Regions from separate parts of the Homo sapiens genome. Here all the other regions are linked to region 1. Evidence: promoter capture Hi-C in human tissues and cell types (Jung and others, 2019). All regions are on one chromosome and are shown on one strand. Each heading gives the region's core, a stretch centred on a gene start or on the middle of the fragment in contact. The rest is flanking DNA. Distances are from core to core; before and after follow the strand shown.

What was found. The method cuts DNA at HindIII sites, captures the fragments that hold promoters and counts their contacts. A contact is called where the count stands out against the background at its distance.
Region 2: a contact is called between a fragment that was not itself captured here and the fragment with the promoter of PROZ in region 1, in 7 of the 25 tissues and cell types used here (H1 embryonic stem cells, IMR-90 fibroblasts, aorta and 4 more).
Region 3: a contact is called between a fragment that was not itself captured here and the fragment with the promoter of PROZ in region 1, in 5 of the 25 tissues and cell types used here (H1 embryonic stem cells, IMR-90 fibroblasts, heart left ventricle and 2 more).
Region 4: a contact is called between a fragment that was not itself captured here and the fragment with the promoter of PROZ in region 1, in 2 of the 25 tissues and cell types used here (IMR-90 fibroblasts and dorsolateral prefrontal cortex).

What each region holds. Positions count from the first base shown.
Region 1 is chr13:113,154,319-113,161,176 of GRCh38, forward strand. It overlaps PROZ (protein Z, vitamin K dependent plasma glycoprotein), which reads left to right and starts at 4,330. Exons shown (of 8, transcript NM_003891.3): 1 at 4,330-4,412; 2 at 5,696-5,859; 3 at 6,630-6,654. The coding sequence starts at 4,343. It overlaps LOC124903216 (a long non-coding RNA gene), which reads left to right and starts at 182. Exons shown (of 4, transcript XR_007063880.1): 1 at 182-547; 2 at 739-797; 3 at 1,499-1,562; 4 at 2,212-2,292. RefSeq lists a silencer at 49-98 and enhancers at 3,813-4,390, 4,967-5,544. The HindIII fragment of the contact is 7,105 bases long and covers 2,062-6,858 here.
Region 2 is chr13:113,009,298-113,015,673 of GRCh38, forward strand. MCF2L (MCF.2 cell line derived transforming sequence like) reads left to right here. Exons shown (of 30, transcript NM_001112732.3): 2 at 5,466-5,549. LOC107984591 (a long non-coding RNA gene) reads left to right here. Exons shown (of 2, transcript XR_001750037.2): 2 at 1-1,039. Among named protein-coding and RNA genes, the nearest start is that of MCF2L, 43 kb to the left of the region's middle. RefSeq lists an enhancer at 4,818-5,346. The HindIII fragment of the contact is 8,660 bases long and covers 1-6,376 here.
Region 3 is chr13:113,394,609-113,400,789 of GRCh38, forward strand. ADPRHL1 (ADP-ribosylhydrolase like 1) reads right to left here. Exons shown (of 8, transcript NM_001394807.1): 8 at 5,003-6,181. Among named protein-coding and RNA genes, the nearest start is that of GRTP1, 34 kb to the left of the region's middle. RefSeq lists a silencer at 3,426-3,720. The HindIII fragment of the contact is 6,890 bases long and covers 1,312-6,181 here.
Region 4 is chr13:112,953,313-112,959,825 of GRCh38, forward strand. It overlaps a transcript of MCF2L not described here. Among named protein-coding and RNA genes, the nearest start is that of MCF2L-AS1, 12 kb to the right of the region's middle. RefSeq lists enhancers at 1-543, 2,866-3,606, 3,607-4,346, 4,347-5,087. The HindIII fragment of the contact is 9,655 bases long and covers 1-6,513 here.

The sequences.
Region 1 (6,858 bases), core at 3,080-5,579:
GGAGGCGGGGCGCGGGGGAGGCGGGGCGCGGGGGAGGCGGGGCGCGGGGGAGGCGGGGCGCGGGGGAGGCGGGGCGCGGGGGAGGAGGAGGAAGGGTTCTGAGTGGACGCGGGGACTCCATGCCACGCGGAGGGCAGCCGCTCATGAGGCGGGGTGTGGGGGAGGAGGAGGAAGGGTTCTGGAGTGGCTTTTCTACTCCAGAAGTCTCCCCGATCCTGAAAGAAAATCTAGACAGGTGGAAAAAAGAGAAACATGTCCAGATAGTGTCTTCCACATTAATGGTCTCCCAAGCTCTGAGGAAGCCCAATGAGTTGAACAGTTTCTCATAAGCTTGCGGGTCCCTGTCAGTGCTTCTGAGATGCTAAAAACGCCAGGCTGTGGGCTGCGTCACCATGTGTCTCCTCTTTAATTTCTTCAGGAGCTCCAGGTGATAAGCTGCCACCTCCATCCACAATGTGGACATCAGAGGATGCAGCATGCTGTGGTTTGAATGTGTCCCTATAGTGCACGTGTTGGAAACTTAATCCCAAGGCAACAGTGTTGAGAGGTGGGACCTTTAAGACGCATTCATTGTCAGAGCCCACGTGAATGAATTGATACCACTATTGTAGGAGTGGGTTCGTTATTTTGGAATAAAAGGATGAGTTTGGCCCCCTTCCTCTCTCCCCTTTCTCTCTCTCTCTCTCTCTCTCTCTCTCTCTCTCACGCGCATCCACCTTCCACCATGGGATGACGCAGCAAGAAGGCCCTCGCCAGATGGGGGCCCCTGGACCTTTGATGTCCCAGCCTCCAGAACTGTAAGAAATAAATTTCTGTTCTTTATAAATTACCCAGTCTCAGATATCCTGTTACAGCACCACAAAGTGGACTAGACCACACTCTACTCTGTGAATCTAAGACGCACCATTATTGATGAACCTGAAAGAAAGAGCATATACCCAAATTAGCTGTGGGTCAGCTCAGCCTGGAGGCAAGAGGGGGAAGCTCAGATAATCTAAACCACAGGCCAGCCAGGAACCAGCTTTGCAATACATTTACACTATTCACATGGGCTCCCAAAACTCACACAAAAAAATGTATTTAAAGGGATTGCAAAGTGGCAGTGCCCCCAGGGGGCAACATAAAGCACAACCCCTTTCAGGAAGAACTCGGCCTTGTCCAGGCTGACATTAGAACATTGGCTGTAGGGAACAGGCCAATTCAGAGATGTTGAAATCTAAAACATAGGTCCCAGAGTTGATTGAACAGGTATTTAAATAGGGACTGCGGCAAGATCTAAGTATTCAATGACCAGGTTCTCCATAGGCTGCTCATTTCAGGTTCCACACAAAGTTGTGGGGTCAGTTGATTTAAGCTGGGGACCCCCACAGAGGACACCCCAACATCTGAAGGACACGACAAAGACCCCAAAGGAAGGAAGATTCTCCTCAGGTATACAGAAGGAAAGTAAACCAGTCAATGGAAAAAGTGTCCCAATGTTGGTTGGTTTGTTTTTCAGAACAGAAGAGGGTGACAGAAGAACGATTATTCATATGAGAGATGAGGAAGATGAGTAGAACGAGGTGAATCTTAATGTTTGGACAATTTATTATTGTAGAATTTTTGGTCCAAAGGTGGTATCTTTGAGAAGGCAGATGAGAAAATTAAATCACCACATACAACACGGTCAGTCCACGTACAACACAGTCAATCACAGCTGTGGCCTCGATGTTGATGCCTTCCTGTATTAGTCTGTTCTCATGTCACTGTGAAGAAATACTTGAGACTAGGTAATTTATAAAGAAAAGCGGTTTAATGAACTCACAGTTCCACATGGCTGGGGAGGCCTCAGGAAACATAATCATGGCAAGCAGGCACCTCTTCACAGGGTGGCAGGAGAGAGAAAATGTGTGTCAATCACAGGGGGAAGCCCCTTATAAAATCATTAGCTCTTGTGAGAATGCACTCACTATCACAAGAACCACCTCCATGATTCAATCACCTCCACCTGGTCCTGCCCTTGACCTGTGGGGATTATTACAATTCAAGGTGAGATTTGGTTGGGGACACAGAGCCAAACCATCCCCCAAAACTCACGTTGAAACCTAACCCCCTGTGCAATAGTACTAGGAGGTGGGGCCTCTGGGAGGCACTCTGCCTTCATGGATGGATGACTGCCCTCCCAAAAGAGGCTCCAGGGAGCACCCACATTCCTCCCTTCCACCATCCAAGGACACGTCTATGAATCATGGGCCGTCACCAGACACTGAGTCTACTGGAGCCTTGATCTTGGACTTCCCATCCTCCAGAACTGTGAGCACTACGTTTCTGTTTATCGTAAATTACCCACTCTAAGGTGTTTTGTTACAGCAGCCCCAACAGACTAAAATGGTCCATGAGGGAAGAGGTTGTAGCTCAGATACCCATGTCAGGCATATAGGATGTGCTTAATTAACACTTATTGATCGAATGTGTATGTCCCTGTCTGCCTTTCCATTTTTAGGCAGCTATTGATGGTTTTTAAACTATCCAGCAGAAGTATTTTTAATGTAAATTTCCATGTGGGAATACATTTTCACACAAAAAAAGGCACCTTTTCTTAAGTGAAGGCCACGTAGATTGCCAGGCTGGTGCAATTCACCCAAGAGCTATCCTATACAATCAACTTCTGGCTTTCAAATTATTTTAACTCACTCACTAAAGATAAACTTTATTTTCTTTTCCCAGCTTTTTAAAGCAAACTTCACAACTTCAGTGTATTTGCGGGCATGCCCTCTTAATCAAGGGTGTCAGCTTCTTAGTTTTCTTCTGTTCCCACTTTAACAAAATTGTATTTAGAATCCTTTCATTGAGTTTTGCCACCTTTGAGTGTCATTCAATCGAACAATATCTATATGCTGACAATGCTGTCATTTCATCTGTTACCACCTGAATCTCCACTGTGAGTCCCAGCTTCTCGGATGCCCACTCCTGTCTCCACCTGGACATCCCACAGACACCTCAAATTTGCCAAACCTCGCTTCCCTCTGCCCTCCTGGAGCTTGGCCGTCTCAGCACACGCACTGCCATCCTCCCAATCGCTCAGCCCAAACCTTGGAGCCGTGCTGCCCGACACAATTCATCATGAATCCCATCAGCTTTCCCTTCCTGAAGCATCCAGACTGCAAACGTGCTTCCTGCTGCATGGCTGCACCCTCACCCCCTCCTGGACTAGCCGGCAGCCTCCCTTTTGACTTCTCTGGAATGTTCTGTTCTCCACACAGCAGCCCAGTGATCCCTTCAGAGCACAAATCTTTCCATGTCAATTCCTGTTCCCTCCAATATCTTCCCAACACAGTGAAAATGAAACACCAGGTTCTTACCTCAGGCTTCAAGGGCTGATATGGTTTGGCTGTGTCCCCACCGAAATCTTATCTTGAATTGTAATCCCCATAGTCCCCACGTGTCCTGGGAGGGACCCGGTGGGAGGTAATTGAATCATGGGGGTGGTTTCCACCATGCTATTCTTGGGATAGTGAGTGAGTCTCAAGAGATTTGATGGTTTTATAAGGATCTGGCATTTCCCCTGCTTCAGTCATTCTCTCTGCTGCCACCCTGTGAAGAGGTGCCTTCTGCCATAATTATAAGTTTCCTGAGGCCTCCCCAGCCATGTGGAACTGGGAGTCAACTAAACCTCTTTTCTTAAATTACCCAGTCTTGGCTATTTCTTCATAACAGTGTAAGAAGGGACTAATACACAGGGCCTACATCTGAAAGCAGCAAACGACAACCCTGGGGCCAAATCTGGCCCCTTAATAGCTCTTATAAATAAAGCTTTATTGGCACACAGCCAAGTGTTCATTCATGATTGTCTATGCTGCCTCTGCTACAATGGTGCTGAGCTGTAGTGACAGACACTATTTGGCCCTTCCCCGCTTTCTCCCTCCTCCCTCCCTCCCTTCCTTTTCTCCCCTTCCTTCTTTCCATCCTCCTGCTTTCCCTCCCTCACTCCCTCCTGTCTCTTTCCCTCGTTCTTTTCTGTGTATTCCACACACACCTAGAACGTAAGCTGCATGTGACTTTGTCTGTCCCGCCCAGTGCTGTGTCCCCAGGGCCTATCTCACCTCCATTGACCACACACGGGCATGGGTGCCACCTTCCACCTTGCACCTGCTGCCTTTACCTTCTGTTCTCTGTCTCCCTAAATATCTCCCAGGGTCCTCTGAGCCTTCACCGTTCATTTCTCTGCCTGGCCTCAAACAGAAAACGTCAGGAGGGAAGCACACAGCTGCACAGGTCGTGCCCCGAGGCTCCTGCTGCCGGCACCTCCCCCAGCCTGGACTTTGGCTGTGTTTGTAGCCCTGTCCCAGCGCTCCGGGTGGGAATGGCAGGCTGCGTCCCACTGCTCCAGGGCCTGGTCCTGGTCCTCGCCCTCCATCGTGTGGAGCCCTCAGGTAGGCATCTGGCTTACCTGTCTGTTGTGCCTGTGCTGTGTCTTTCTTGACTCGGTCCATGGTGGATTTGTAGATGAGGCTTTTTCCAGGAGCCAGAGGAGCCCTGAGTGCCCAGACTAGTCTTAATTCCCCTGAAAAAGCTGTTTGGATCTTTATCATTTGGTGACAAGTATTTGGGACATGATAGTGTCACTTGGGGTCCTCCCAAGAGATGCCCAAATGGAAAGAAGCCTGTGTGCAGGGGATTCAGCCGGGAAAGGCCGGGGAGAGGGGAGGGGGAAAGGGGGAGGAGTGGGGGGAGGCCTGGGTTGGGCATTGGACGAGGGGAGGGGGTGGGGCAGGCTGAGCCCAGACTGCAATGTGGGCAGAGAGAGCCTTGGCCAGGCCAGCCAGGAATGCCCAGTCTTGAGTCAGGAGACATAGCCAGGGAGCAGCCACCCTGCCTGCCTGCCACCCTTCTACCACCAGCCACTTCACTGAAGGAACGACATGGACTCCATTCTGACTCTGCCTGCACAGGCGTCCAGGAAAGCTGCAAGTCAAAACACCCAGCATCCCCGCTGGCCCCATGGTCTCCCGCTGGCCCCATGGTCTCCCACCCTGAGAGGGTGATCCCCCCGCCCTGCCCTGCCCAGCACTTACCGTAGCCGGACTTAGCTGAGCCCCCCCTGCTGTAACCCTCAGCACCGAGAGAAAAGGAGGGAGGATGGGAAGGGCCTGGGCTTTGACCCTCCCGGAGAGGGAGAGAACATGCTTTGGGACCCTCAGGTGGGAAGAGGCTCCAGAGACCACTGCCGCGGGTCAACTCATTTGCCTTCTCCTCCTGGAAATCGCAGAGCCTGCTGCAATGTATAAGTTTCTTCTTTATGTGTTTTATCAAGATGTTAAATGCTGCGCACAGAGGCAGCACAGGAGCTGATGGCTCTTGGTCCCCAGTTCTCAGTACGGGGACCTTTGACCCCAGCTCAGCCTTCCTTCGCACTCAGACCCAAAACCCAGTTGGAGCCCTCCCTCCTCCACTTTCCTGACTGAGGCCCGTGGCCTCTCTGCAGAACCTTAGTGTATCCGCACTGATCCTGGGGCTGATCCATTCGCCCAGAGGATGAAGTGCTTGCCTACCTCGGGGGAGGGAGTAGCGGGGTGGCCCTGAGGCCCTCGCAGGCTGAGAGCCTGTGGAGACGGACGGGGCTGGGGCTGGCGGCCGGCCGGGGAGGAAGCCAGGCAGCTCTGGAAAGCAGGGCCCTCGGTGCTCCCAGTCACCTGCCTTCTTGTCTCGTCTGTAGTATTTCTCCCGGCCTCCAAAGCAAACGACGTTCTGGTGAGGTGGAAGCGTGCGGGCTCCTATCTTCTGGAAGAACTCTTCGAGGGAAACTTGGAAAAAGAATGTTATGAAGAAATCTGTGTCTATGAAGAAGCAAGAGAAGTGTTTGAAAATGAAGTAGTCACTGTATGTACCCCCACCACAAACCACAGGCCTCCTCATTATTTAGACTTCTGCTGGCCCAGGGAGCATCATTTCTCAGAGATTAAGCTTAATTAATTAGCCTATTTACTTACCGATGAGGTTGACACAATCCCAGTTTTACAGATGAGGAAACAATTTAGAGAATCGACTTAATCCACCTTTCCCTACAGCAGTGAGTGGGGCTGGAAGTCAGCTCAGAGCCCACTGGACTCATTTCTTCAGGTCAGGCAAGGCCCACACACTGATCAGACACCCAGCATACATTTTCTTTCTAGGCTTCAAGTCTGAATAATTCTCCTAATTTTAGATACTCCTACCCCAAACTAAGTGTCCCCACTCCCTACAGAGGTATATATCTTTAAAATTCAACTCGGTTTATAAAAAGCGAAAAGGTGATGTGACTTCTATATCATGTGCTTTTGTGGAGGGTGGCGTGGAGATTGGCCCTAGAAGGGAAGGGCCACGTTAGGGGCTGTGGGTGGTGGGTTTGTGCCATGTCATAGACTCTGGCCTTCCTCAAATAGGTGGTGGTAAGCACATGTTGAGTAATATATCTTACAGATACATTTAGTTACTATACATTTAACATAAACAAATAGGCTGTAAAACAGGAAAATTGTGCATTGTTTCAACCACTATTGTCCTATTAAGTGAATAAAATCAACATTTTCTTACCTTCAAGTTCATCTACAGGAAAGAATATAGAAAAACAAATATCCCATTTGTAACATTTTTATGTTTTAACTCTAAAGGATGAATTCTGGAGACGATATAAGGGTAAGTGGTTTCCTTCGTCTCCTCAGAAGTATTAATTCCTCGGGATGAGGTGCGTGGGTGGGCTTAGGACGCTTCACGACCCCAGCTCAGCGGATGCCAAGCCTCTGGCTCCAGGACCCACGGTGTCTCTCCAGGGAAGGGCAGCTCCGACTCTCCCCAAGGACCAGGTCAGGAAGCCCCCGGGCTCTGCCACCAGGGCCACAG
Region 2 (6,376 bases), core at 1,540-4,039, 150 kb before region 1:
TTAAGCTTTCTGAGATCAGAAAAATAATATTTAGTGAACCATGTGATTTAAGTCACTGTGTATGTGACATGAAATATTTATACCTAACCCACTAGCAAATGGCTCGTTAAACATATTTGAGATTTAATGTAAGTGAGAATTCTGCCAACCAAGTCAGGATAAACCTTAAACATCGGGAATGCAAAATCAAACAGATCCTTTAACACACATCACAAACAGAGGTGTGGACGCCCCTTTTGTCCCAATGGCAGGGACGGGGCGCTGGCCCCCAGGGTGTCCTGTTTATCCCCTGACCCACACAGTGTCAGGAGCTTGTCTGGAGGGGACGGGGATGCTGGCCTCCTGGGGTGTCCTTATCTGAAGGCTGTGGTTTCAAGCATCCTCCTTACTGAATTTAGATTTTGTTCCGATTTTGTGGCCTGCGTTTCTTCTTACTGCCCTGCTCTGTGGCCCTGTTCTTCCTGGGTTTGGAGATCCTCAAGGATGGGCTTCGGGAAGGCCTCTGGCCGGATGATCTGGTGACGTAATCCCATCTGACGCTCAGCCTTGGACTTTGAAAAGGCACGACTGTCCTGTCTGATGGACAGGATGCAGAAGCCTTTGGGAATGGGCATTTTGCCAGAATAAATAAAAGAAGACAATTGGCAAAAGATGGACTGTACCCCATGGCCCCAGGCTGCTGTGTGGAGAGACTTGTCCTCTCCTCTGCCCACGGTCACCAGTGAGCACCAGGGACGGGGTTTCCTGCTGCACCTGGGCCTCTTCCTGCTGCCAGGAGCTGCCTTGCTGCCTCCACCTGTGACAGTCCACCCCCCATACCCCCCCCACCCGCACCATGAGAGGATTTCCAGGGCCCACCCGCCTCCAGTCCCCGTTCTCTCTGCTGCTTTCGAGGTCACCCTGGGCTGGAAGGGGTGCCTGGGATACTGCTCAGACGTCTTGGCCGCCCTCCCACCCCGCAACACCCCGCTCCTGGTTTTCAGGATGAAATTGTCCTCAAATAAAGCAAGCTTTTGAGTCAACTTGCAAGAGGAAGGAAGTTTGCTTCAGTCGTCTGGTTTTGTTGGAACAAAGAGATCTAAAGATAGACACATGGTCCCCCTCCCTGGACTGCCATTGCCAGGACCCTGTTTCTGTGAGGAAAAGTCAGTGGTGGGGCCTCACCTGTGTATCAGGTGAGCCAAGGGCACCTCTGCCCTTCCCACGCTTGGGAAATCTCACCACGTCGTCCCCGTAGTGGCCAGAAGAGATTGGCCCTCCCAGGTGGGGCTGCTGTGGTCGGTGCTGGGGATGGGCAGGGGCAGGCCTGGCCACCCCCTCGTCGGCCCCACCTGCTGCCTCTGCCCGCGTGGCAGGGGAATGGACGGGGCAGCCTCTGCCGGGCCTCAGATGTGAGGCCCTAACCCTCCCCTCTCAGACCTGCCTCTGAGCAGTGGGGTCATCACTGGGGAGTTGGTTGGAGCAGGGCTCAGTGAGGGAGCTGGGCCTGGCCTGGCCTTGGGTGGCACATACGGGTCAGGGGCCCACCACCTCCCAGACGTCTGACAGCACAGAGCCCCACAGAGGCCATGCTCGCCTGCCTGCATCTCCTCTGGGGACCTGTCTCCTGAACTGAGTGGCCACTATTGTTCCTCCGTGCGCTTCTTAGTCTTATGGCTGCAAAATTAAGTAGACTGGAACTTTTAAAGAAACTATGATCATAAGGGCAGATTTTCCCATCATTCTTGAGTGGGTTCAAAAAATCAAGAAGAATGAAAACTTACACACATAAATGGAAGAAACGCCCAGCGCCCTGAAAATCCCAGGGCCCCGCCTGCAGAAGGCCTCCATGAAGAACGGAAGAAGGCCAACACTCTGGTGTGGGTCAGAGAGCATCCACAGGCCTCTTCAGGTTCACAGAGTGGCCAGTGACCACTTCAGATGTAGCGATATTTTAGAGTTTATTTGTATGAGGGCTTAGCTGTGTGCAGTTTCTGATCACACACAGGGGGATCCCTGCTTTTCATACCCAAAATGAGGCATTTGATCTGAGGGACAATATTTAGAGTTTGTCCTGGCCCAGAGAGTCCAGAGGCACTGCGGGCTGCCAGCAGGTAGACAGTGCAGTGCAGATGATGGACAGGTGGTGTGGACGGTGGACAGGTGGTGTGGATGGTGGACACTGCAGTGCAGATGGTGGACAGGCGGTGTGGATGGTGGACAGGTGGTGTGGACGGTGGACAGGCTGGGTGGATGGTGGACACTGCGATGAGGACGGTGGACACTGCGATGAGGACAGTGGACAGGTGGTGTGGACGGTGGACACTGCAGTGTGGATGGTGGACAGGTGGTGTGGACGGTGGACAGGCAGTGTGGACGGTGGACACTGTGATGCAGACGGTGGACAGGCGGTGTGGACGGTGGACACCGTGATGCGGACGGTGGACAGGCGGTGTGGACGGTGGACACCGTGATGAGGACGGTGGACAGGCGGTGTGGACGGTGGACACTGTGATGCGGACGGTGGACAGGCGGTGTGGACGGTGGACACTGTGATGCGGACGGTGGACAGGCGGTGTGGACGGTGGACACTGTGATGCGGACGGTGGACAGGCGGTGTGGACGGTGGACACTGTGATGCGGACGGTGGACAGGCGGTGTGGATGGTGGACAGGCGGTGTGGACGGTGGACAGGCTGGGTGGATGGTGGACACTGCGATGAGGACGGTGGACACTGCGATGAGGACAGTGGACAGGTGGTGTGGACGGTGGACACTGCAGTGTGAATGGTGGACAGGTGGTGTGGACAGTGGACACTGCAGTGTGGATGGTGGACAGGTGGTGTGGACGGTGGACAGGCAGTGTGGACGGTGGACACTGTGATGCGGACGGTGGACAGGCAGTGTGGATGGTGGACAGGCGGTGTGGACGGTGGACAGGCTGGGTGGATGGTGGACACTGCGATGAGGACGGTGGACACTGCGATGAGGACAGTGGACAGGTGGTGTAGACAGTGGACACTGCAGTGTGGATGGTGGACAGGTGGTGTGGACGGTGGACAGGCAGTGTGGACGGTGGACACTGTGATGCGGACGGTGGACAGGCAGTGTGGACGGTGGACACTGTGATGCGGACGGTGGACAGGCAGTGTGGACGGTGGACACTGCAGTGCGGATGGTGGACAGGTGGTGTGGATGGTGGACAGGCGGTGTGGACGGTGGACAGGCTGGGTGGATGGTGGACACTGCAATGAGGACGGTGGACACTGCGATGAGGACAGTGGACAGGTGGTGTGGACGGTGGACACTGCAGTGTGGACTGTGGACACTGTGATGCGGACGGTGGACAGGCGGTGTGGACGGTGGACACTGTGATGCGGACGGTGGACAGGCGGTGTGGACGGTGGACACTGCAGTGTGGATGGTGGACAGGTGGTGTGGACGGTGGACAGGCAGTGTGGACGGTGGACACTGTGATGCGGACGGTGGACAGGCGGTGTGGACGGTGGACACTGTGATGCGGACGGTGGACAGGCGGTGTGGACGGTGGACACTGTGATGCGGACGGTGGACAGGCGGTGTGGACGGTGGACACTGAGATGCGGACGGTGGACAGGCGGTGTGGACGGTGGACACTGTGATGCGGACGGTGGACAGGCGGTGTGGACGGTGGACACTGTGATGCGGACGGTGGACAGGCGGTGTGGACGGTGGACACTGTGATGCGGACGGTGCCCCCACGGTCTGTGAGGCAGGCAGGGGATTGAGGACAGTGCCTCCTGGTTTCCTCTCAGGTCACAGTCGCTCCTGGTGAGAGAGAAAAACTTACCGTAAAATCTGAACATCCAACTGCGCAGTCTAGGCTGCCGTCGGCTGCACCAGACACACATTCCAGAGAGGTGTGCACCAGTGGAAGTCACCTTGCCAGGAGCATGAGATAGTATTTCATGCTTTACTGATTGACTGTTTCTGTCTTTCTCCCACAAAAGAAGCCATCGCCGAGACGTGGTTGCGTACTGGGAATGGGTCTGTGCCCTGAGCTCGCCCTGCAAGGCTCTGGGGAAGGGCCTTGACATCTGCTTGGCTCTGGCAGGTCCCATGACACCGTGGCCCTGCTGCTTCCCCCCCAACACCAGGGTTGTGTCTGGCTCGGAGGCAAAGCAGTCCCATAGCTGGCAGGGCCGCAGCCAGCACGGCCCAGGAGGGGCCCCTTTGTGTTCCACTGTGTCCCGTGTTTACACTTGTTTGTCTGCAAGACTGGAAGAGCAAGATTTAAGTCTGATGCCAGGTAGATATTATCTGGCAGCCTCCGCTGGGAATTTCCAGGTACAAACACCTCTGTCCCATATCTTCAGGCTGTTAGTGACCTGGGTCCTCAGGTGTGGAAAAATTGAGCGTTTAAGCCATTCTCAGGTCATCAGCGTGAGTCCTGCATCTTTTAGAGAGAAATTGTGTGGATGTTCAAGACTGCAAATGTGGCTATATGATGAGAGCGTTGGCCAGAAATCGTGTCTGCTCCGTGGTCAGTGGTCAGTGTCCCCCAGGCACAGTGGCCTGGCAGCCGCTCTGTAGCAGAGACCACCAGCCTGTCAGTCCGTACAGCTTTCCCTGGAGGGTCTTGCTGGCCCCATGCTCCCGGCTGGTGCTGGCTCCATGCTCCTAGCTGGTGCTGACCCCATGCTCCGAGCTGATGCTGGCCTAGTGCTCCCAGCTGGTGCTGGCCCCGTGCTCCTGGCTGGTGCTGGCCCCATGCTCCTAGCTGGTGCTGACCCCATGCTCCGAGCTGACGCTGGCCTAGTGCTCCCAGCTGGTACTGGCCCCATGCTCCCCCCGTGCTCCCAGCCAGTGCTGGCCTGGTGGCTGCAGGTGCTGCAGTGCGTCCAGAGCCATCTGGAACCTGCTGGGTGGGGGGATGGGTGTGGGGGTCGACCCTGCTGTTGCCATCCTGCCTCATTTGTGTCCGTCTAATGGCGAGGCCAGGGTTGTGGCACAGACCCCCGAGGGTCCTGTGTGTGCGGAGGCAGAGGCCCATTCCATGGCCAGGTTTTCCTCCTGGGCCACAAGTTACTGCACCTGCAACAGGTGCGGGGCAGGGGTCGCCTGAACATTTTCCCTAATGTGGGTGGGACTCAGACCAAAGTGTATTTATCCGAGGAGCCAGGACCAAGCCCTTTCCCACTGCTCCCCTGCCTCCCCTCTGCCCAGGTCTCTCTCTTTGTCCCTCCCTCTCTCTGTCTCTCAGTCCCTCTCTCTGAACCTCTTATATCACACTTTCAAAATTGATGGTGAATCACTCAACACACAGCTTTTATGCGCTGAGAAACAAAGGCCTCCACGTATTGGAAACTGAAAAGCCTTTTTCCAGCCACGTGACGCCACTCCCGTAGGTGCCTGTGGATGTGCCAGCTCCGTGTGGGATCGGGTGGGCGCTTGCAGGGTGAGGCAGCTTCCTGGGACTGACACGTGCCGTCTGCTCTTTCCGTGCAGATGAAATCATGCACCAGGACATCGTCCCGCTCTGTGCTGCCGACATCCAGGACCAGCTAAAGAAGCGCTTTGCTTACCTGTCCGGTGAGTTCCAGAAGCTGGGATGGGGTGGAGAGGGAGGGGTCTGGGGCCGGGTGTGGGCCGAGCAGCCCCCGTGGCCTGGCCCAGGCTGGAGCTGGGAAGGGTCATGCGAGGGGCTGTGTATTCACTGCCTTGGGTCTGACCTGTGACCTGGCTCTCCCCATCTCTGTGAAGTGGGCAGCTCCATGCCAGTTGGCACATGGCCACTGGGAGGAGGTGGGTGGAGGAGGGTCAGGGTCCCCAGGGGGATGTGGCCTGGGCACCCCTGACAGCAGCCTCCAGGGACAGATGGAGTGGTGTGTGGGTGGCCGAGCCCATGGGCCTCAGTGAACCCCAGTTCCTGCTGCATCTGGGCACCTCCCAGGCCACGCCTCTGTCCACTGTGGCCTCCAGCCCTGCGTCTGGCACACCTGTGGAGGTGGTGCCTGCAGCCATGGGGACATAATGAGGCTCCCAGCACCCCTGTGTGGGTACAGCAAGGGCACCTGCAGTGGCCCCGAGCTATGTAGATGCCGTTCTTATGTGAACAAATCTGCCCAACAGGACCCGTCAGAAAAAACACCATGCACATGCATGCCCACCCTGGGCCATCAGGGTGCCCCGATGCTGAGGAGGGTGCCCCGATGCCGAGGAGGGTGCCCCGATGCTGAGGAGGGTGCCCCGATGCCGAGGACGCGGTGCTCTTGGGAGCTCAGCCTCTGCCCCTCTGCATTCCCGTCAGCATCCCGGCCCCCAATCCATGGCTGGCACGGTGGGGCCTCCATCCCGCACCTGCACCTACAGAGCCAGCCTGCACCCCAGGCCGGGCCTTGGGGTCTGAGGGAGGCTGA
Region 3 (6,181 bases), core at 3,507-6,006, 240 kb after region 1:
TATTTGAATCTACTATTTTATACTGGATTTTTTTTTTCTTTTTGAGGTGTAGCTTCACTCTTGTTGCCCAGGCTGGAGTGCAATGGCGCCATCTCGGCTCACTGTAACCTCTGCCTCCTGGGTTCAAGCGATTCTCCTGCCTCAGCCTCCTGAGTAGCTGGGATTACAGGCGTCCGCCGCCACCATGTCCAGCTAATTTCTGTATTTTTAGTAGAGATGGGGTTTCCCCATGTTGGCCGGGCTGATCTCGAACTCCTGACCTCAGGTGATCCACCCTCCTTGGCCTCCCAAAGTGCTGGGATTACAGGCATGAGCCACTGCGCCCGGCCTTATATTGGATTTTAAACATTAAATGGTACAATATTTTCCATTTCACAAAGTTCTTCCTCAGCTAATTTTAAATGACTGCTATTTCACTGAATAAGACACCACACTTTATTTAACTAATCTCTTTTTTTTTTTTGAGAGGGAGTCTTGCAATGTTGCCCAGGCTGGAGTGCAATGGTGTGATCTCGTCTCACCGCAACCTCCGCCTCCTGGGTTCAAGCGATTCTCCTGCCTCAGCCTCCCTAGTAGCTGGGATTACAGGTGCCCGCCACCACGCCCAGCTAATTTTTTGTATTTTTAGTAGACACGGGGTTTCACTGTGTTGGCCAGGCTGGTCTTGAACTCCTGACTTCGTGATCCGCCCGCCTCGGCCTCCCAAAGTGCTGGGATTACAGGCGTGAGCCACCGCGCCTGGCCAACTAATCTCTTAATTGGTGGACATTTGTGTCACTTATGGCTGTATCTTGAGTAGTACCACGCTGGACAGATTGCTTTTCCTAAATACAGTTTCTCAAAGCTGGAATTGCTGGGCTGAGGAGCCACCCCTTCTAAAGGTTCTTGACATTATTGCCAAATTGCTTTATAAAAAGGAAGGGCCAATGTTTGGTCCCATCAGGAATGACTGTCTCCGTACATCCTCAGAGGTAGTGAGTGTTACCGATTCCTTTTAAAAATTGGGGGTTTTGGTTCTCAACTTGATAGACCCATGAGAGTTCAACTTCATGTCTTTGACCACCACGCACGCAGTATGTGGTCCGATACGGCACGTCCACCGTGGATGTTGATGGGGACAGCCCCGTGTGCTCCAGTATGTGGTCCGATACAGCACGTCTGCTGTGGGTTTTGATGGGGGCGCCCCTGTGTGTTCTTTTTTTTTTTTTTTTTTTTTTTTTGAGACGGAGTCTTGCTCTGTCGTCCAGGCTGGAGTGCAGTGGCACAATCTCGGCTCACTGCAAGCTCCGCCTACCAGGTTCACGCCATTCTCCTGCCTCAGCCTCCCGAGTAGCCGGAACCACAGGCACCCACCACCACGCCCGGCTAATTTTTTTGTATTTTTAGTAGAGACGGGGTTTCACCGTGTTAGCCAGGATGGTCTCTATCTCCTGACCTCGTGATCCGCCTTTCTTGGCCTCCCAAAGTGCTGGGATAACAGGCGTGAGCCACCGCGCCCGGCCCCCTGTGTTTTCTTGAGTGCAGGGGGCAGAATCCATCCTGGGGAATTTGAGCAGAAAGGGACATGGTGAGCAGTGTGACAGCTCCCAGCTCCTTGCAGGACTAGAGGAAAGGCCTCCAAGCCCAGCTCTGCACTGGCTAATGAGCTTCCTTCTCTCAGCTTCCCTGGAAACATCTTTCTCTGCACACCCAGGAGACTCCATATCACCGGCTCGTCCTCACCGTGGGCCCAGAACCTGCTGTGCCCTGCCGGCCTGGGGAGGTTGCGTCTCCCTGGCAGAGCTGCATGCGTCCCAGCAGCAAGGAAGGCTGGGGATGTGGGATGTGGGACTGCCGTGCAGAGAGAAGACAGGATTCATGTTGTGGGGAGCTGTCAAAACGTAGAAAAATAGCCCCACTTTTGGGGCTCCCATGAAAGACTGGGGTCTTATTCATATGTTTGAGCCCCTTTGGAATTTGAAATGAAGCCGAGTTCCCTTCCTAACGACACAGAGCTCGCAGAAGCCGCCTCTTCTCTTGGGCGTCCACCGTCAGCTCTTTCTGGACTTTGTTCTTCCTGTATGTGTGCGGCTTCCTGCCGTTATCAAAGTCCAAGAATTTCATCAGTTTCTTATTTTGTTTTATTTTTTAACATTTTATTCATTTTTTTTTAAGATACAAGATCTTGCTATGTTTCTAGGCTGGCCTCAAACTCCGAGGCTTACGTGATCCCCCCACCTCAGCCTCCTGAGTAGCTGGGACCACAGGTGCTGCCACCGCACCCGGCTTCTTGATTATTTTATCATCATCATTATTGATTGAGCAATGGAAATCTGTAACTTATTTGGTGCTTTTTTTGGGTTCTTATTTCTTCAAGATTTGGAAAATTCTTCCCTACGTGCAGATTTGCTGGTGGGTTGAGCGCCTTCTTCCAGTTGGGGATTAAGACATGACTTCCAGTGGTACAGGCCGTAAGGAAACAGCCATCCAGAGAATTCAACAGCTCTTTCTCCGCTCTTCAATACAACATGACCTGTGGTCTTTTGTTCTTTTATTTTTTATTTTACTTTCATTTTTAAATAGAGACGGGGTCTCACTATGTTGCCCAGGCTGGTCTGGAACTCCTGGTCTCAAGTGGTGAGAAACAAACTCATCTGTCCAAACCCAGAAGAAGGACTCGGAGACCCGGAGGAGAGTGAAAGGGAGACTTTCTTTCTTTCTTTTTTTTTTTTGAGACAGAGTCTCGCTCTGTCACCCGGCTGGAGTGCAGTGGCGTAATCTCGGCTCACTGCAACCTCTGCTTCCCGGGTCCAAGCAGTTCTCCTGCCTCAGCCTCCTGAGTAGCTGGGATTACAGGTGCACACCACCACACTCAGTTAATTTTTTTATTTTTAGTAGAGACGGGGTTTCACCATGTTGGTCAGGCTGGTCTTGAACTCCTGACCTTGTGATCTGCCTGCCTCAGCCTCCCAAAGTGCTGGGATTACAGGCATGAGCCACTGCACCTGGCTGAAAGTGAGACTGTTGATGATGGTCTTGCAAGATCGGGTGTCTGATGGGCAGCCACAGCCAGCACAGTTTCAACAAATAATTTATCCCCTAGTGCACAGGTGTCTCCCCGGGTTCCTCACAGGCTGAGTACTCTGGGGTCACAGTCTTCTGGGACGTCACCTATTGGTTGTTGGGCAGGGGCTGTAGGTGTTTTTTTTAGGGGTGTCCTGTTGCATTTTGTTGCAGCCCACAATGCATTGCAATCCCAGTCAGCCCAGGGGCTCTTCAAGTATTTGACTTATGACCTAAGTAGCTGGGCAGGCTGATAAGAACAGACAAAGCCAGCTATTTTGCAGGCTAGTAAACTGTTATCTTAGACTAAACTTCTTTAGTTCAGGTGAGAGCACCTAAGGGCCGGGGGGAAGGGAGGGAGAAGGGGAGGCCGGCAAGCAGGCACTGGCGATCCAGGCAGGGGCCTCGGACCTCCTGTTTCTTCTGTAGTTTGCTGACTTAAGCCGATTCAAGGCACTTTGTCTTGGAAACGGACCACTGTAGACACTGTTGCCTTCACTCCCCGCTTGGCCTCCTTTGTTCTTCTAGGAGAAGATGCCTCGGCACTTTCACGAGTTTGGGGTGTGCACAGATGGGGCTTCTAGTAGGCTCCTGTGCCTTCGAGTGGCTTCCCAGACACCGCCTGGGGTTGTGGACCTGAGCCAGGCCAGTCCTCTCGCTGTCAGAGAAACGGCGTGCACTGCTCAGCTGCTCAGTCCTGGGCTTTGGGGGCTACGTGACATCCATTCCTGTCAAAAATCCATGGCGGCCATAAAGATTCAGCAAATGCACCGACGCTCAAACAGACAAATGTCCCGGCACTTCCTTTTGTGGTTGGGGCTTTTTCTTCTGTTCAGGGAAACATTTGTCTACCCCAAGCTTATAACAATATCCCAAGAATGGGGTTTGATCAGACTTCTATGTACACCAGTCTCACAGACGCCCTCAATAAGTGCTTTTAAAAGTTCTAGCCGGTCGCAGAGGCTCACGCCTGTAATCCCAGCACTTTGGGAGGCCGAGGCAGGCGGATCACGAGGTCAGGAGATCGAGACCATCCTGGATAACGTGGTGAAACCCTGTCTCTACTAAAAATACAAAAAATTAGCCGGGCGTCTTGGCGGGCGCCTGTAGTCCCAGCTACTGAGGAGGCTGAGGCAGGACAGTGGCGTGAACCCGGGAGGCAGAGCTTGCAGTGAGCCGAGATCACGCCACTGCACTCCAGCCTGGGTGGCAGAGCGAGACTCCGTCTCAAAATAAATAAATGAAATAAAATAAAATAAAAGTTCTAATGAAAGCCTGTGTCATAGCTTAATTGACAGGGGTTTTCTTTCAGGACAAGAGGTGCCTGCACCATCCCAAAGCCTCGGCTGCCGGGCCAGTGCTCTCAGACACGAGGCATCAGCTCGTTTCAGTGGAACAAGCTTTCCTCCTCACAAGATGCCAAGAACCCGCGCCACCCACGGGCACAGCAGGGGTTTGGAATGCAGGCATTCCCAGCTAGGTCTGGCGTGAGCTTAAACCACCCGTTGTTAAATCCTCATGAAAAGTCACTTACAAAGTTCTCCTGCATACAGAGTAGTGGAGGGCAGAGGGTGTCTCACAGGCCTGCTGGGCCCGTTGCACCCATACTCCTTCCCTCCCTTCTGTCCAGTCTCCCTCCGTGTCCCAGAGGACACCCCAGCCCTTTGGCCCCCCGCGGCCCAGGTGCAGTGGCCGAAGTCCAGCTCCCTGGGTCTTGCTCCGAGGCCGGCACAGTCTTGACTGGACCAAGAGAGGGTCTGGGGAGTGCATGGCCTTGTCTCTCTAAGCACATCCTAAGGAGTTCTCCTCCCACTTGGGGCCTTGCCCCAGACCCTCCCTCCTGCCCAGGATCACTGCTCCAGGCTGGCCACATTCACCCGATGGGGGCTCTGCCCCTCGCCCCAGGCCTGAGTCCTACTTCATTTATGCGGCTGCTTCAACAATGCAAGGAAGAGATTTGTAATGGGAAAGGTATTTTATTTCTTTTTGAAATTATTTCCAGCTGAATGATGTTAGTAAAAATACAGAGAGAATACAACAAATGACATTTAGTAATTTTTTCTGACTAACCCATTTTAGGGTTGTTTATATACAAAGAAGAATATGAACAAGAACAAATTTAATAAATAGCTGTAGCCTAATACACAACCGAAAGACCGTAACTCCAACAGCAGAGATACCCTGAGAACAGAATAAGGAGGTGGTGCTGAGCGTGTAAAATCCCAGACAACGACCCTCCCTGAGCGAGTGTCCTGAACATGACCACATTCTCGTCGCCGTCTCGGGACCTTCCTGCCGCCTGAGTGCACCGCCTCCCGCCCGGCTGTTGTCACTTGCACCCACAGACCTGCGGCTCACAGTGGGCCTGTCGACAGCCGGAGGCACCGTAAAAAACTGCAGGGAGGAGGCAGTCAACGAGTCGCTCAACTACACAAAATTAATGATGTTAACTAAGAAGCTAAAATAAATATCCTGTTTTCTTTTCTTTTCTTTTCTTCTTTTTTTTTTTTTTTTTGACGGAGTCTCGCTCTGTCACCCAGGCTGGAGTGCAGTGGCGCAATCTCGGCTCACTGCAAGCTCCACCTCCCGGGTTCACGCCATTCTCCTGTCTCAGGCTCCCGAGTAGCTGGGACTACAGGCACCCACCACCACGCCCGGCTAATTTTTGTATTTTTAGTAGAGACAGGGTTTCACTGTGTTAGCCAGGATGGTCTTGATCTCCTGACCTCGTGATCTGTCTGCCTCGGCCTCCCAAAGTGCTGGGATTACAGGCATGAGCCACCGTGCCCGGCCACTTTCTTTCTTTCTTTTTTTTTTTTTTTAAAAAAACAAAACAACTTTGGGTTTTATTTAAAATGCCCGTGGAGGTGGTTAGCGCCCCATTCTTCTGCTGTAGTTATTTCACCCCGGGAGGGTGTGGGCCTTAGCCATGTGGCCGTGATGGTCGTATCTGAAGTGTGAATACTTCCCCGCGCTATCTTCTAACCTGCGCTGTCTCAGCTTAGTGTGAACGTACGGACCGTTCTCAAATCCTGGTGAAGTCACTGGCAGTTTTTTCCTGCACACAGAGTAGCTGTGCTGTTTTTGAGCTGAGGGCAGTGTCATGCTGGGCTGCATCTGGCACATGGAGAGGACGGGC
Region 4 (6,513 bases), core at 3,331-5,830, 200 kb before region 1:
GGGTGGGGTTGCCTGGCCCCCTTCTCACTGAAGGAGCTCCCAGGGAACATGGCCCAGACAACAGCACAGCTGCGGGGAGGGGCTCCTCGGTGAGAGGTGGTCACTGGTGCTGAATTGATATGGTGTCCGCTCCCCTCTCAAAAACAAGCTAACCGGTATGCACGGAGCCACAGATCTGCCAAGGGTGTTGGGAGCTCGAAGACCACAGTGCCTGCTCTGTTCCACGTAATTTACCTCTGCAGAGACAGGAACAAGGGTCAGGCAGAAAGCAGGGGTGGGAAAGATCCTGCCTGCAGACTTCACCTGTGGCCGGTGGTTCTAGAGGCCTGGGCAGGAGACCAGCTCAGTCTATGTTTTGTCTGCCCCCAGCTGACCTGGGTTCCCAGCCACCTGAGGCCAGGCCTGCCTTGGTCCTGCGTCAGAGCCCTCCCTGCCCAGGGGAAGTGCAGACCTGGGGCTGAGCCTGACCCCAGCCAGACCCCAGCCTGACAGGAGCGTTCAGCCACCTGGTAGGGGCTGGGTCAGACGGCAAAGGCAGGGAAGACGAGGAGGCTGCCAGGGCCCTGCTGTGGGCACTCGCTGCCTCACCTCTCCTCCCCCTGCATGTTTCCAGGTCGCATATGAGTGTCTAGGTTGGGAAAAGGGTCTCTGTGTGGCCAACGGAACTGTCTGCTCTGAGAACGCTGTGGCATGCTGGGCTTGGCTTGTGCACCACTGCCCTCAGAATGTCATTTTATTGTTGATCTTGTGCCTGATGTTGCGAAGTGAGGTGAGGCCATTGTGGAATGTGCACTCATCCTGGGACTTGCTATGCACTTGTCTTGTCACCCGAGGAGAGGGGAGGTGGCCTGGAGCCTGGGGCCTGCTCTGTCTCCCTGGAACTCCTGTTTCCAGGCCTCACACAAAGCCACATTGGAAGAGAAAGTGTGCCCAGCTCTGCCCACCAAGCACTGTCCTGGGCTTTCTCAGCTGAGCCTTCTCACCTGTCCACACCCCTCCTCCCTGCTCCAGGACACCTCCTGGGGCTGGAAAGTGGCCGAGGCAACCACCCTTTCCTGAAACCTCGAGGAGGCAGCACCCCCGGCTTCTGCCAGCTGCATCCTGACGTGCTGTTGATGCCCTGCTTCCCATTGCGATGTGGAGGACCTGCGGTCATTTTCACTCCCTCCTCATTTAACTTCACTATCCCTTGGCCTTAGTGGAGTTCATAGGGTGAAACCAGAGGAGGGTTTGCATGGAATGACTGCTTTGCTTGGAGCGAGCCTCCCTCTGTGGCATGGCCCTCAGTGGGCTCTTCCCACTGGGCTCTGACTGGCTCCCGAGGGGGCATGGGTGGGCTCAGGGTGTTTTCAGCCCCAGTGGCTCTAACCTGCCCCATGGTGCAGAACAGCTGCTCCAGGACCTCTGGGGTGCTTTTTGCACTCTTTATGGAGCTTGGCACGTTGCTGTGTAAATAGCAGGTGCTCCTAGTCGCTGCTTTGCTGTGAAAAGAGAAAAGCAATCCTGAATATTTAGAGCTCTGTGTGCTACACCTTCCTGCTGTCACCTGTGGGGCAAGTCCAGCACCTGGGGGGCCTGTGGGAGCCATGGGAACTCATGCTGTTTAGGGCGAGTTGGTCACGATGGCTGTGGCTGCAGGGTCCCAGCTATAGTGGAATCCAGCAGCCACAGTTTAATGTAGATGCTGTGCCGTTGGTGACATGGATACTTGCATGCATCAGACCTCCAGAGCTCTGCTGAGTGACGGGCAACATGGCCGGGACCCTGGTCCCAGGCGTAGCCTCTCTGGGGACTCAGGGACCCGAGGGAAAGCTGCCTGAGGCAGCAGGAGAGGAGTGAGGGGCTTCATGAGGTGGGGACCCCGTCCCATTGCTCAGTGCTGGGTCCCCAGCATGAAGTGTCTGACACAGAGGAGGCCTCACACGTCCTAAACCTGCATCAGAGCAGGATGAGTGGAGCCCAGCCCTCCGTCCTGGGTCCCCTTAGGCAGTAGCCAGAGGCTCCCAGCAGCCCCTCAGGAAGCTACCAGCAAACGGAGACATGGGAGCCGCACCCGATGGGTCTGATTGGGTGTGGCTATTTCCATGGCCCATTTTTGTGTTCAGGTTCTGATTGTCTGAACGTTGTGACATTGGCTGATATTTATTTATTGCTCACCACATGCCCGGTTACTGTTCAAATCAATTATATGCATTTAATCCTCGAAATAACCCACAAGGTGGGGACTTTGTGACCCCATTTTACAGATGGGGCTACTGAGGCAGAGAGATTGAGTAACTCCCTCAAGGTCACCCCCTGATAACTAGGATTGGAACCCAGGCAGGTGACTCTGGGACCCAAACTCTGAACCCCTTTGCCATAAGGCAGACTGCGCTGGAGGCTGTTTCCATTCCCCAAAAGAGCCCCTGCGCTCAGCATTTTGTGAGCTTTGAATGTGGAAGCTAAGACCGAGGGCTTGTCTGCTGTCGGAGAGTGGCCACCTACACACATCTTGAATGTGGGTGCCTTTAAAATACAGATATCCAGGAGATCCCCAGAAACGCTGGAGAATAAACGTCAGCTCAGGTTGCCATCATTTAGACGTTGCATTTAGTCCCGGAGGATGGATGCCATACCCAGGGGCCAGAGGCATTCTTCCCTCTGGCTTTTCATTTGGTTTCTTTTCAGTATTTGGAACGTAGAAATCAAGTCTGGATGTCAGAGTATTGATTTAGTTTTCTTTTTTCCCAGGAGGCGTGATTAACAAAGAGCCAAAATGGCAAACTGTGTGGAGGCCGTGGCGTGGGCTGTTCCTCGAGAGCCGTGCTTGTAGGGCTGGCCTGGGAGGGCATCCCTGGTCCGCAGAGGCCGGTCTGTGCCGCAAAGCCTGGGCGCAGGCACGGGAGTGGCAGGAGGGTCCTGGAGTCAAGGGAGCAGCTAAATTTCAATGCAGCAGCTTCTTTTTGCCAGAGATCCAGGTTAAAAAAAGAAAATGTTTCACCTTTTAAAAAATATCATACTTAAGACCTGCATTTGTTCTATACCCAGATCATCTTTTTAGAGCCAAAACATCAAGAAATATGGCCTGAAAAAGGCTCATGAAAATACTGTTCTGAGAATTAAGTGTTAATGACATTCTGAAACCTCACTGTTTAAAGAGATCCACTGCTAGTATAACAGGACCCCTGATATATTTATGCATTTATAAATTTATAAAATTCATTGTTAAAATCGAGCAATGCTGGAAGCGTCTGGCCCACGGATGATGAGGAGGCAGAGTTTTCAGAGGATGCTGGAGGACAGTGCACAGCTCCCTGCCAGTGGCTGCGGCTTTCAGGCTGCTGGGACAGTGGCCGGATGCAGACCTGTGTGGAGCAGCTGCTGCTGCTGCAGCGAGGTTGGCCACATAGGTGACGCCCTGCTAGGCGCATCCAGGTCCAGCCTCGAGGTTGTCCACTTTGAGGCCAGGTCTGCTGGGAATCCAGGCCTGCTGTGTCTACACTCTCACACTCCTTAAACTCTCCTGACCGGGACACACGATGAGGTTTTCCTATCAAACTCTACATGCATTTCGTATGACATCTCTGGATTTCATCAGCTCCGAGTAAACCAAGCCTTACTTACAGCCAGGAAGGCATTCAATACCCAGATCTGGTCACATTCTGCCCATTGGTGCATGTTTTAGAAGCATGTGTGTGTTTCTGCCCACCTCATGGCTGCTGAGGAACAGTGGCTACTGCGTGTCGTTCTTGTGATGCCTTTGTGATTTTGTGTGCAGAGCCTTATTTACAGGCCGCCCCCGAGAGCAAAGGATAATGGTGCATTATCTGTTGACGTGACCCTGGAGAGCTCTAACTGAACTGCACAAATGGGAGAATCCTCCCCTACCGGCCCCTGCTGCTCACAGACAGTACGCTCAGCTCAGCAGGGGCTGCTCTTACAAATGCCATCGCAGCACAGGCGGTCAATGCTTGGCATTTTCTGGGGCCCCTGGTTTCCTTTTAGAGGACGCAGTATTTTCAGAAATGGAGTTCACATGTGTGCTCATCAGTCAGCAGCAGTCAGCTGTGATGTCTCCAAACTGTAGAGGCTTTGGACTTTTTGGCCCACTTTCTTCATAGAACGATAGAGATTTAGGATCTTACTGCCCTAGTTTAATCTTGGTTTGCAGATGAGAGGCCGAGGCCCCGGGGTCCTGAGCCACGTGAGCTGGGCTTCCACCCTGGACTCCATGCCGCGCCTCCTCGCCAGATAGACGCCAGATAGACGCCAGATAGACGTGGCCAGTCGTGCTGTTTCAAGGTCTTATTCCAGTCAGGTTTTTGTTTTATTGATTTTTTTGTTCATGAAGTAGAATATGGTTCATGTATTACATACTTTTCTGTGTGTGTGTTTTTATTACAATATCTCATTTTCATGGGTTTTTATAACTTAAGTTACCTCTAACCTATGACCCTTGTAGTCTCTTCTTCCACCTTGTGTATCCTAATGTGGGAATTCTGCTTTGGTGGATGACTTTTGTGAAGTGAATTAACATACATTTCATTTAGAATAATGCTTTGAGCAACTCAAAGAAAGTGAATTTAATTTTATCACTTAGTTTTTATTTTATACTTAAAGAGCTCTATTTGCCTTATTCAGATTTTTGCTATCAGTGTTGTATATACACAAAGGGAAGCTAAGCAAAATAACTTGGTTAGATTTTCCTAAAATTTCTTCATTCAGCATCCAACTCTTCTGACTCCCTTACCTGGGACGTTCCCCAGCTGTCGCCGTCAGTCTTCCTCAGATGCCAGTTTGTTGAGGTGTTTCTCTTTCCCTGATGCCTCTTGTGCCAACAAATAAAGACTTTCAGCTCTTCCTGGGCTCTCGAGACCAGGCCTGCTGCATTCTCAGAGAAGCAGAACCTTAGGAGATGCGTGGACGTGCGTGGTTCGTCTGTGCCCCGTGTCATGGGCTGGCTTATGTAATTGTGCGGCTGGCATGTCTGACCTCAGTAGTGCAGACACAGGCTGGAGACCCACGCAGGATTTCCATGTGACAGTCTGCAGGCAGGTGTCCGCTTCTCCGGGGGACCCTGTCCTATTCTCTTAAGGCCATGCAGGGATTGAATGAGGCCCAGCCCACTGTGGAGGGGCACATGCTCCATTCGGAGCCAGCTGACCGCAGGTGTTAATCAGCCACATCCACACGACACCCGCACAGCCCCCGACGAGGGTGGGACTGGGTGGCGGGGGCTGGGGCCTCAGCAGGCTGACCCCTGACCCACCAAAGACCAGGCTGCATCCTGACTCACCTTCCTCATTTCCCTGAAATGCATCATTCCTTCCTGGCCACCTGCCTGGCACACGCCCAGGCTGACCGCATGGACCATTTGCTGTCTCCTAGGGTTTGTTACTTCCCGTGCCTTCATTACCCCTGGGGCCTCTCCTCATGCAGCTCCTCAGGCCTGGAATGCCCCCAGCCCTGCTCGTGTGTGGGATACGTGTGCCAGGCACCTCCTGGTGGGATTCCAGGTTCTGCCTTGGGGCTAAGAGCACCTGGAGGCTCAAGGTGACTTCTTTGAGACCCTCCCGCACAGGGTCTGGATGGCTCGTGGGAGAGCCGTGAACACAGAAGCTGCCGTGGAAGCAAATCCTGGGCGGGAGGATGGCTGCACCTCCCCCCGGAGAGCACCGGGGTCCTGCAGGAAAAGCAGAGGTCTCCTGTGGCCGCTATGCCTCTTCCAGAAACTTCCGTACGCACAGAATGAGCGTCGCATCCCAAATGCCTGGTAGTGGTATTGCGGATAAATGTTAACCTAGAGGTTTTTATCTGAAAAGTTCCAGTTTAATTTTTAAAGTCTTGTTTTTACCAATTCTGCTTGTTCAAGACATACCATATGCTTTTTTCCTCTAGTTTTTCTTTTAGAAAGAATTTAATGAATTGTGCTGGGATCACCCTCATATCGTTCTCCCTCACCACCCCCCGTCCTCCGGGTCTCTCCACTCTGGCCCCAGCAGTTGGCGTGTCAGTTATATTTATATTATACATCCTGCCATCTGGGGCTCTCATCGAGAGTTTCTCGGACATGGTGTGACATCAGTGGGTCCTTTGTTTCAGAACAAGCGCGTTCTCCTTACTCTCTGGCACGGCCTCGGTGTTTAGGGGTTTCCTCTCTCTGGGAAGCTGTTCCTTCTCGAGAACACAGTGTGCTTTGTTCCTGCAGTGAGGGAGGAGGGTCATCCTGGGGGGAGAACTCCTGGCAGCATACAGAACAATAGGACAGGAGGATACTGTCCATGGCTGTCTAGGTCTGAGCTGTTCAAAGGTATTCTCCATGTTTCCATGCGTTTGACTTCTAGGTTAGATTTTCTCCCTATTAGAGGGAATATCTCATTCCTCTAGCATAGACAGAGGGGGAATATCTGTTGGCAAGAGGGATGTCAAAACCCAAAAGTGAATTATTGGTAGCAACCCACGTGCAGTACACACCCACGACAACCAAGCTGCACAGTGGCCTGGCATGGTGTGTCCACAGCAGCAACGCACCGG